Regions from separate parts of the Homo sapiens genome. Here all the other regions are linked to region 3. The links are contacts of gene promoters, found by promoter capture Hi-C in human tissues and cell types (Jung and others, 2019). All regions are on one chromosome and are shown on one strand. Each heading gives the region's core, a stretch centred on a gene start or on the middle of the fragment in contact. The rest is flanking DNA. Distances are from core to core; before and after follow the strand shown.

Region 1 (3,616 bases), core at 1,043-3,542, 39 kb before region 3:
GGTACCACAAGCACACACCACCACACATGGATAATTTTTAATTTTTTGTAAAGATGGAGTCTCACCATGTTGCCCAGGCTAGACTTGAACTTCTGAGCTCAAATGATCCGCTCACCTCAGCCTCCCAAAGTGCTGGGATTACAGGTGTGAGCCACTGCACCTGGCCAAATGGGTTTGATTCTAATGAGGAGGAACCCTCATATCTTTGCTTAGATCCATTTCCTCCTTCTTTACTTAGTTCACATATTAGAGGCGTCCTGGGTAGACCAATCCCTTAAACACACAACAAAAGTTTGCTTCTGAACCGCCTTCTAATTTTTTAGAATTTTCTCTTACCTTGTGTACTTGCCTCACTCCTCATATCTGCTGGTCACTGCTGTTTCTCTTGTCTTTACCTTCTGCTTTCTTCCCTGACCACAACTCTCTTTCTGGTTGTGTTGCCACAACCTCCCTGAATAATTTGCCTCATCAACACTGACTCATCCCTGGAAACATCTACACTGTTGTAGGCCCCAAGGACAGCGAGGTTGCTGCTTAGGCCCCCACAGCTTTTCTACTGCACAACTCCAGGGCTGCCACATGTAGACGGTGCTGTGAATGGGCCCAACCATTATGCCATAGAACAGGTCTATTAGGCTGCCCCTTGCCAGGTCCATTTCAGTCCCATGACAAAGACCCAGAAAAGTCATAGTAGAGAGCCTAGAGTGATGATGCAATCCAAAGCCATTCCTCTAATGACAACAATGCCTGGGAGGAACCTTGAATGCTTATCTGGGAGATGAGAAGTCTGAAGGAGAGCTAAGAAATTTTTAGTGTGTGGAAGGGTATAAGTAGGACCAGTGAGTGGACAGAGGCTACAAAGAGTCATGCTTAAAATGAAAAATAATTTCTAATGTCCATTTTCACGCTGCTGATAAAAACATACCCGACTGGGCAATTTACAAAAGAAAGAAGTTTATTGGACTTACAGTTCCACGTGGCTGGAGAGGCCTCACAATCATGGTGGAAGGTGAAAGGCATGTCTCACATGGCAGCAGACAAGAGAATAGAGCTTATGCAGGAAAACTCCCCATTATAATAACCATCAGATCTTGTGAAACTTACTATCACGAGAACAGAGAACAGCATGGGAAAGACCTGCCCTCATGATTCAATTACTTCCCACTGGGTCCCTCTGACAACACTTGGGAATTCAAGATGAGATTTGGGTGGGGACAGAGCCAAGCCATATCATCTAACCATCTAATCTGTTCAGAAAAGCAAGTGGCTATTGTCTTGATGGGTTTTGGTTTCTCTGGCCTGGAGGTGTTTCAGCCGAATTTGGGAGATCACATGAAAGAGGGGTGCTGTGTACAAGACGTAGGAAGTTCGAACAGGAGGAGGCATGCCCTAACAGGAAAAGGGGTGCCTTAACAGGAGGAAGGGTGTTCTAATGGGGTTGGAGAGTGCCCTAACAGGGGGAGGGGTGCTCTAATAGAAGTGCCTTAATTAGGGTGCTCCTAATAGGATGGAGTGCCTAATAGGAGAAGGGGATGCTCTAAAAGGAGGAGGGGGCCTGAACAGGAGGAGGAGCCTAAAAGGAGGAGGAGGTGCTTTAACAGGAAGAGGGGGTGCTCTAACAGGAGGTGTAGGTCCCTAACAGGAGGAGGGGATGTCCTAACAGGAGAATGGATGCTGTAAATGGAGGAAGGGTATCTTAACAAGAGGAGGGGTGCTCTAATCAGAGAAGGAGGGGTGCTCTAATCAGAGAAGGAGGTGCTCTAAAAGGAGGAGGGGGCCTTAACAGGAGGTGGGGTGACCTAAGAGGTAGAATGGGTGCTCTAACAGGAGGTAGAGTTCTCTAACAGGAGGAGAGGTGCCCCAAAAAGAGAAAGTGATGCCCTAACAGGCGGAGGGGTGCCCTAAACAGGAAGAGAGGTGCTGTAACAAGAAGAAGGGTGCTGTAATAGGAGGAGGTGTGTTCTAACAAGAAAATGGGGCCCTAAAATCAGGAGAGATGCCCTAAGAGGAAGAGGGGTTCCCTAACAGAAGGAGGGGTGTCCTAATAGAAGGAAGGGTGCTCCAACAGAAGGAAAGTTGTTCTAACAGGAGGAGAGGTGCTCTAACAGGAGGAAAGTTGCTCTAACAGGGGGAGGGGTGCCTTAACAGAAGGAGGGGTTGCCCTAAGAGGGGGGGTGTTATAACAGGAAGAGGAGTATTCTAACAGGAAAAGGGGGTGCCCCAACAGGAGAATGGGTGCCCTAACAGGAGGAGGGTTGTCCTAACAGGAGGAGGGGTGCCCTAACAGTAGGAGGGGTGCCCTATATAGGGAAAGGTGCCCTAACAGGAGGAGAGGGTGCCTGTATTAGTCCATTCAAACTATATCATTTCACCCCTGGCCCCAACAAAATCTCATGTCCTCACAATTCAAAACACAATCATGCCCTTCCAACAGTCCCCCAAAGTCTTAACTCATTCCAGTATTAACTCAGAAGTCCAAGTCCAAAGTCTCATGTGAGACAAGGTAAGTCCCTTATGCCTATGAGCCTGTAAAATCAAAAGCAAGTTAGTTACTTCCTAGATATAATGGGGATACAGGCATTGGGTAAATACACCCATTCCAAATGGGAGAAATTGGCCAAAAGAAAAGGGCTAAAGACTCCACGAAAATCCAAAATCCAATAGAGCAGTCATTAAAACTTAAAGTTCCAAAATGATCTCCTTTGACTCCATGTCTCACATCTGGGTCACACTGATGCAAGAGGTGGCCTCCCACAGCCTTGGGCAGCTCTGTCCCTGTGGTTTTGCAGGGTACAGCCCCCCTTCAGGCTACTTTCACAGGCTGGTGTTGAGTGCCTGTGGCTTTTCCAGGTGCACAGGTGCAAGCTGTAGGTGGATCTACCATTGTAGGGTCTGGAGGACCATAGCCCTCTTCTCACAGCTCCACAGGGCAGTGCCCAGGTGGGGACTCTGACCCCACATTTCCCTTCCATACTGCCCTAGCAGAGGTTCTCCATGAGGGCTCCACCCCTGCAGCAAACTTCTGCCTGGACTTCCAGGTGTTTCCATACATCCTCTGAAATCTAGATGGGGTTCCCAAACCTCAATTCTTGACTTCTGCCAAGCTGTCAAGGCTTGGGAATTGCACCCTCTGAAGCCACAGCCGGAGCTGTATCTTGGCCCCTTTTAGCCACACTTGTATCAGCTGGGACACAGGGCACCAAGTTCCTAGGCTGCACACAGCACAGGAGCCCTGGGCCTGGCCCATGAAACCATTTTTTCCTCATAGGCCTCTGGGCCTGTGATGGGAGGGTCTGCTGTGAAGGTCTCTGACATGGCCTGGAGACATTTTCCTCATTGTGTTGGCGATTAACATTCAGCTCCTTATTACTTACACAAATTTCTGCAGCTGGCTTGAATTTCTCCCTAGAAAATGGTATTTTATTTTCTATTGCATCATCAGGCTGCAAATTTTCCAGACTTTTATACTCTGCTTCCTCTTGAATGCTTTGTCACTTAGAAATTTCTTCTGCAAAACACCCTAAATCATCTCTCTCAAGTTCCAAGTTCCACAGATTTCTAGGGCAGGAGCAAAATGCCATCAGTCTCTTTGCATAGGAAGAGTGACCTTCACTCC
Region 2 (3,449 bases), core at 541-3,040, 55 kb before region 3:
CATTCCTTATGTCAACCTTATGTGGTGTGCATTGTCCTTTTACATTTCACATCTGAAGACAATTAGACTCAAAGGGTTTCAGATAGTTACTCGATGGGACTGGCACTCCAGAGTCTGCGAGGGCAGAGAAGTTTGCTGGGAGACTGAGAGAGTGCTCATGGGATATTGTGGTATGGGAGGAGCTGGAGCCCTATGTTCTTGGCTGGACAAAGCCCTGTTGTGCTCATTTTGGAGATGGCAGGTGGGACCAATCCCATCACAGCAGCTGCCTCAGCAGGGAGATGCCCTGCAAGGGTGAGGTGTGGCCTAGGCAAGGTGTAGGAACTGGAAACTGAGGTAGGGCTGGAGGGGGGGAATATAACAAGAGTGAAAACAGTGCTTGAGGGCAAAAATGTGATGGGGAAAGTAAAAAAAAAGACCTGGAGTCTACACTGAAATTGAGTGGGGGTGAAGAAGTGAAATATTATTTTGGACCATATGAAATTGTTGTTTTGTAGGTAAAATGGTGGATTATGAACAATTTTATGTGTTCAACCTAATGTAAGCTTACTGTGGGTAAGCACCAAATATTAAGTATAGCCCATGGAATGCAGGGTGGTCTAAAGGTGAGTGGCACTGGATCTCAGCATTTGGAATGCCTACCTGTCCCCATATGTATCATCAGAAGGCACCTGTTAAAATATACACGTTACCTAGAAGTAGCAAATATTACCTAGCAACATCCTGGCACAACTGGCTTTATTAAACCAAGTTGTCACTTACTATGACAACAGCTATATAAAGTGACTGAAAAGAAAATTGGAATTTTGATTGAAAGATCATTTTGACTAGGTAGAGCCTGAGATAGGGGAGCTGCTTGGCAGACTGTGAGCAGCACTTGGCACAAGGTGGGGGGGTTTTGATAGAAGGCATTGAGAGAGAGGAAGCCGAGGTCTGGACCCAAAAGACTTGCTGACTGGCTGTGCCCATAAGCTTCCCTGCGCTGACTGCTGTCAGCCAACAATTAGGATTTCCGTGGTGCTCTGGCTCCCTCTTCAGGGAAACTCCTGAAATGCATCGCCATGTCTCAAGAAGATGGAGCTCCAGCGAAGTTTCAGAGATGGAAGACGGAACGGTAAGGGAACTAGTATTTCTCAAATTCACACTGTGTGTAGGCAGTCTGCTGAAAAGTGGCCACTAATATTGCCATGTATAGAAGTGTAAACTCAGATAATTTACGTGATTTGTCCAAGGTCATAACTCAATGGTGGTAGAGCTGGGATTCAACTTCAGGTTAGCCTGACTCCAAAAGACAAAGGTTGACCGTGGGCATCTCCAGGGAAGGGAGCAACTTCTATTGATTTTTGAATCCAGAGCAACTTCCATTGATTTCTGAAGCTCCAGAGTATAGTTGGGTGCAACAAATGTGAATCCCCAAAGACACAGGGCCCCGCTTAAGACCCCACACGTGGTTTTCCTCCCAGAGTCAAAACCCAGCAAGTTTGTGCCCCTCTAACAGCAGTATGAATCTTGGGCCCCAAGGCTGTGTCTGGGGCAGCCCTTCATCTCTAACTTCTGAGTATTCTTGGCAACCACCTGGAACACAGTTTTCCATGGTGCAGTGCTTCCTCCTCCACCTGCCCTTTCACATAAGGGATCGCCTTTGACCTTAACACCTGCTCTCTCTGTTTGACAGATGATATTTGATTTTTGAAGATGGAAGAGCATCTATCCATGCATCCATTCATTCATAAAACTGATAAGTATTTGTTGAGTGTCTACGATGTCCAGTCAGTGTTATTGACTCTAGAGATACAGCAGTAAACAGAATAGATAAAAGCTGGGATATGTGGGTGGGAGTAGTAGGCAGTAAACAATAACCCTAATAAATATGTAAATTATACAACATGTTAGAAGGCGGTAACCACTATAGAAATAGAGCTGAATAAGGAATGAGAGTGCAAGTGGCAAGGATAAAGGGTAAGTTGTAATTTAAATGGACTGGTCAGCTCTGCTTTATTAAGAAGCTTACTTTTGAAAGAAATATAGGGAGGGAGCCAAGCAGATATCTTGGGTAAGAAGATTCCAGGTAGAGGGAAAAGCCAATGCAAATGTCCTAAGGTGAAATCATTCCTGATCTACACAAGATACAGCAAAGAGGCCAGTGTGGCTGGAAGGGAGTGAGAGAGGAGAGTAATGGGGTTGAGCTACCTCTACTGACTGAGTATATATTATATGCTGGGCACCACTAGGCACTTAAACATGCTGATCATGTCAACTCCTCTGGGAGTGTGTTATGGACCAATTTAGAAGTTGAGAAATAGTGGTTTGGTGAGAGTGGGTAACTCACACATGGCCACAGAGCCAGCAAAGCAGATGTTCTGGCTCCAGAGCCCCGTTCTCTCCTCTGCACCCCATTGCCTTCATTCGGCCGAGTGGCCCTGCCTGCAGCAGCTGCCATGCTCTGAGCTGGCCTCCTGGTGTCAGTGAGCCCCAGCTCAGTGGCCGAGGAGGGCCCCAGGAGTCACAGGCTCTCACTGATCCCCACCACACCGAGGCTGCTTCCTTGTACCCCTGGTTTTAGGTCCAGCGTCCTCACCACTCTGAAATCAATTACTATTTTTACTTCTCTTTTTTTTTTTGGCATTAAGTAGACTTTTGGTTTTTAAATTATCTGAAAGTAAAAGCACAGAAGTGACATTCTTCTTGAAAGTGAAAGCAAGTGTGGAACATTTTTAACCATGCTGTTTCCTATCTGTTCTAGTTTCTGTAGGTAGTGGGTTCAGAGTAGCTCAGAGTATAAGGTGTGGGATGTGTGTGGGGGTGAGGGTTGGCCCAGGTGGACATCAGCATTTGACTCCTTCCTGGTTGCTGTAATTTGGGAGGGACTAACCAGGCTGCTAGATGTGCAGAAGGGTGGGCGCCACCTGCTGGTTGTGTGCATAAACCGCCTTTTCACCCAGTCAATCTTCATTCTTCTTTACTTGGAAATGGCAAATGAAGCCTTTCTATACGTGACTCTAGCAAATTAATTATTTCAGTCTTCCCGAAACACTTTATGTATATAATACCTCATGGTAGCATCATGCAAATGTCCCTTTGCCTTTGCTTGTGCTGGTATACCTTACGAAAAACAATCTGTACATCCAAGATGTCCCCCAACATCACCTACTTCAAAAATCACCTACTTCCAAGATCCATCCCTTACACTCTCCAAACTCCCCAGTCCTCAGAGACCCTAAGACACCTTGAACTACATCTAATCACCATGTGGCTAATGTGTTTGTCTTCTCCCAGAGGGGGACAGAGAATTAGCATTAAATTATGGCAGATCCCAGAAGATGTGCACAGGTCCTAGGACACAGCAAGGTGTTCAATAACTGTTGAAAGAAAGAATGCAGGCAACATATAACAATAAATAGGAAACAGACTGCATTTCGGTTTGTGGAGATGTGTGACATCTAAATAGA
Region 3 (3,519 bases), core at 10-2,509:
CTCTGTTCTAATATTGACTTTACTTTTTGGAATGTCTCACCTATACTCACCAACAGGTGCTCTAGGAACTGGCAACCTGTTAATCAGGCTCTAAATCCATGTTAAATGAAACTGGTATCTTTTGTGACTTATCTTTCCTCGCCTAGTCCCTTGAGCCACTCCCAGCTCACTCGCCCCCAAACCTGTCTCTCATCCTTAATTCCTGAATTCTTAGTCTTGGACTTCTGTTATAGTTCACATTCACAGTTGTGGGCAATTTGATTAAGAAGCAGTTCTGAAGTTGACTGCCAAAGTATCCTCCAATTCTTAAAAATTAGTTATTCTGAAAACACTATCTATCATGAACACTTTGGACCTTTGGAAAGAACTTTCTTTCTTTCTTTCTCTTTTTTTTCTTCTTTCCCTCCCTCCCTTCTTCCTTTCCCATTTTCTTTTGCACTGGGCAGTGGCCCTAGGGAGAACTTATCTTCAAAGGCAGATTGGTGGTTGGGGGTGGGATAAGAAGCAGGAGTCCCACAGGCTGACTAGCCTTTTTGCAATTGGGCCACTGTCCTGCACACATTTTTCTCTTTGTCATACCATGCTGTATTATGGGGATATGGCAACCTGACTACATTCACAACTTTTCTGGTCTTATGGTTCCTTAACTTTGCCTAGGTTTTTCTTCCTGTCTCCAGTGACAGAGAGAAATCACCCCTGGGGTTCCCAAAGGTGCATCCCCGTCATCATCTTCACTCACTGCATCTTGAAGCATATGGATGAAACCCAGCAGGCTTATCGCATAGCTTGTGGTCTGCCCTGGGGAGCCAAGGACCAAGAGCCAGAGAGATGAGAATCAAGATAAAAATAGGTGAACTACCACCTACCAAGTAGATGACTACATAGGAATGGATGTGTGGGCAAGTGGAGCCGTCTGTGTGTGTGTGTGTGTGTGTGTGTGTGTGTGTGTGTGTGTGTATTGAAGACAAGGGCAGGGGTTCCAGACCTCCCTGCATTTGAGCCCCATGCCCTCTCTTAGCATACACACAGCCTCCCAGGTACAAACAGTGCCCTGTTTGGAAAGTAAACATGCCATAGCAATCCTGGCACCTCTGTGAAGTGACTTAGATGCCCACATGCACCACCTACAATGCTACCTGAGTGATGAATGTCTCTGGGATGTGAGTGTCAGCTGAGCACGTCTGTTGGGAAATGGGCCCCTCCCAAGAGCCTGAACCTGAATACTTCTTATAAAAAGGTTCTCTGGCTGGACGCTGCTCAATCCACTGCCTAGCAGGTGGCCCATTCCAGTTGGAGAACGTAGTGAGTCTTTCAGTGGAGCCAGGGTCTGGTAAGTCTCCTAGCAGGGTCTGGGGGAGAGGGTGGGATGAGTTGAGGGCACAGGGGAGGAGCAAACAGAACACAGGCAGCAGATAGATGTGGAAGGGGTGTCCCGCAAGGCACCTACGCTTCTAGTGAGCCAACCTCTTAAGGTACTAATGAGGACATAAAGGCAACATAGGAGGTGGTTTTTGCAAGGGTACACAGCAAGTCCGCAGAAGAGCTGTGACTAGAACCCAGGTCTTTCAGCTCCCTGGATGGGGTTATTTATATTGGCACAACTCTCCTTTCCCACATGGTTGTGGGGCATGAGAGGCGTAGGCAAGAAAGAATGATCAGGACATGCTTCTGGCCTGTGGATTATTTAGACCCAGCAGGTGGGACCGCCTGTTGGACTTGGGTGTTTTCTAACTGATGGGGGTGTAGTAACTAGGAAGATACAGTCGAAGGTCGGTAGGAAAGTAAAATGAGGGACAAGAAAAAAGCCAAGTGGAGATTTTGGACTGGATCATACAGATAAGTTGCCGCAGTGTGCTGTTTATTTTCCACTGTGGAGAACTTGAGCAGTCTTCTTCTAGTCAGAGAAAATGGAAATGCATTGATTCATTGCATGGATTGTGTCCTGCTCTGAGCATGTTTAACTCACTGGAAACACCTGCTTGGATTTGCTTCTTTGCGTCCGCTCTTTCTGGGTGCTTTTCCCTCCTTGTCCCAGGCCAGGCTGACTTGTACACTAAGCCGAATCTCAAAAGCCCAGACAGAGTTCCATTGGTGGAAAGAAAAAGCCGGCTCGCCTTTGAAAGGCTGCCTTTCTTCCAGGTTTGTCGTGAGGAGCTCCGCGATGTCCTCTCAACAGAGCGCCGTTTCCGCCAAAGGCTTTTCCAAGGGGTCGTCCCAGGGCCCCGCTCCGTGTCCCGCCCCGGCGCCCACCCCGGCGCCCGCCTCCTCCTCCTCCTGCTGCGGCTCCGGCAGGGGCTGCTGCGGCGACTCAGGCTGCTGCGGCTCCAGCTCCACCAGTTGCTGCTGCTTCCCAAGGAGACGCCGCCGACAGCGGAGTAGTGGTTGCTGCTGCTGCGGGGGCGGCAGCCAGAGGTCCCAGCGCTCCAACAACCGGAGCTCAGGATGCTGCTCCGGCTGCTGAGAGGCCCGCAACCCCCAGCGCTGCGCTAGAGAAACCCGCCCAGCCCAGAGCGGGCCCGCCCCGCTGCGGCTCCCACGCGGGGCTGGGCCTCGGAGTTTGCCCCGTAAAGCGAATTGCACTTTGATGTTCAGAAACCCACTTTGTTCTCAGCCACGCAAAACTCCCTGACCCCGATGTGATTTTTCTCCCCGGGGATTCGAGAGCCATGCGTGGGACACTGGACCCTACTGTCTACACGGGCTTGCACACAGCAGGTGCTCAGCAAATGTCTATTGATTTGATTGTCTTTTGAAGATGTCATAATAAAGCTTCTACCTCCTGAGAACACCTTTTATTTGTTCTTCATTCGTTTCTCCACCCAGGTAGAAAGGCTTGAAATGTTTGTGAAAGGCAGAATACTATAATTCATGCCTGAACAAGAAGGTGGCTTTCTGATAGTTAATTATGATAGCAGCGATCACATATCGACTGTTTCGAGTATTTTAAGGATTTTATGCGACAAAGTCCTTGAATATTCTCAGGACTTTATGTGGCACAATCTGATTCTCATAATGACTTGCGTAGGAGAGTGCAATTATACCCATTTTACAGAAGAGAAACTGAGGTTAAGTAATTTGTTCAAAGTCACCCAGCTGGCGCATGATAAAGAAGACAGGACATCTGATTCAAGGGCTTCATTGCTCTGCTGAGTTCTCACCTGGGCTTCCCAAGCCTTACCACTGAGGTGCTCCTCCCGACCACCAGGTCCAGGCAGCTGTGTGGTAAAAGTTTGTTTTGGCAACTCTTTGGGGCTTTGGAATCAAGCCAGCTGTCTTCTTTTTTTTTTTTTTTAGTTTTATGTCTTATTTTATTTTTTATTTTTGGCATGGAAGTTCATTGACCTACTGCTTTGCTTGCTGGGGAGGAAATTTTTCCTAAGATGAGCCTTCCAGGAAACTGGGAGCTGCCCTCTCCAGGTCTCATTTGTGCAGCTGAAGCAGGACCAACAGCCATGGGTTTCTGGGAGTCTCTGTGGTGCAGCATGTGTGCTCGGAAACATGGGGATCTCATTCTTTAGA

The links. Contacts are between HindIII fragments. The study calls those that stand out against the background at their distance.
Region 1: a contact is called between a fragment that was not itself captured here and the fragment with the promoter of CRCT1 in region 3, in 2 of the 25 tissues and cell types used here (neural progenitor cells and thymus).
Region 2: a fragment that was not itself captured here is called in contact with the fragment with the promoter of CRCT1 in region 3 in 2 of the 25 tissues and cell types used here (mesendoderm cells and spleen).

The regions. Positions count from the first base shown.
Region 1 is chr1:152,473,626-152,477,241 of GRCh38, forward strand. No RefSeq gene overlaps it. Among named protein-coding and RNA genes, the nearest start is that of LCE5A, 35 kb to the right of the region's middle. The HindIII fragment of the contact is 8,673 bases long and covers 1-3,616 here.
Region 2 is chr1:152,457,558-152,461,006 of GRCh38, forward strand. No RefSeq gene overlaps it. Among named protein-coding and RNA genes, the nearest start is that of CRNN, 45 kb to the left of the region's middle. RefSeq lists enhancers at 961-1,030, 2,949-3,008. The HindIII fragment of the contact is 6,142 bases long and covers 1-3,449 here.
Region 3 is chr1:152,513,223-152,516,741 of GRCh38, forward strand. It overlaps CRCT1 (cysteine rich C-terminal 1), which reads left to right and starts at 1,260. Exons shown (of 2, transcript NM_019060.3): 1 at 1,260-1,330; 2 at 2,140-2,786. The coding sequence starts at 2,162. The coding sequence ends at 2,461. The HindIII fragment of the contact is 6,327 bases long and covers 1-3,519 here.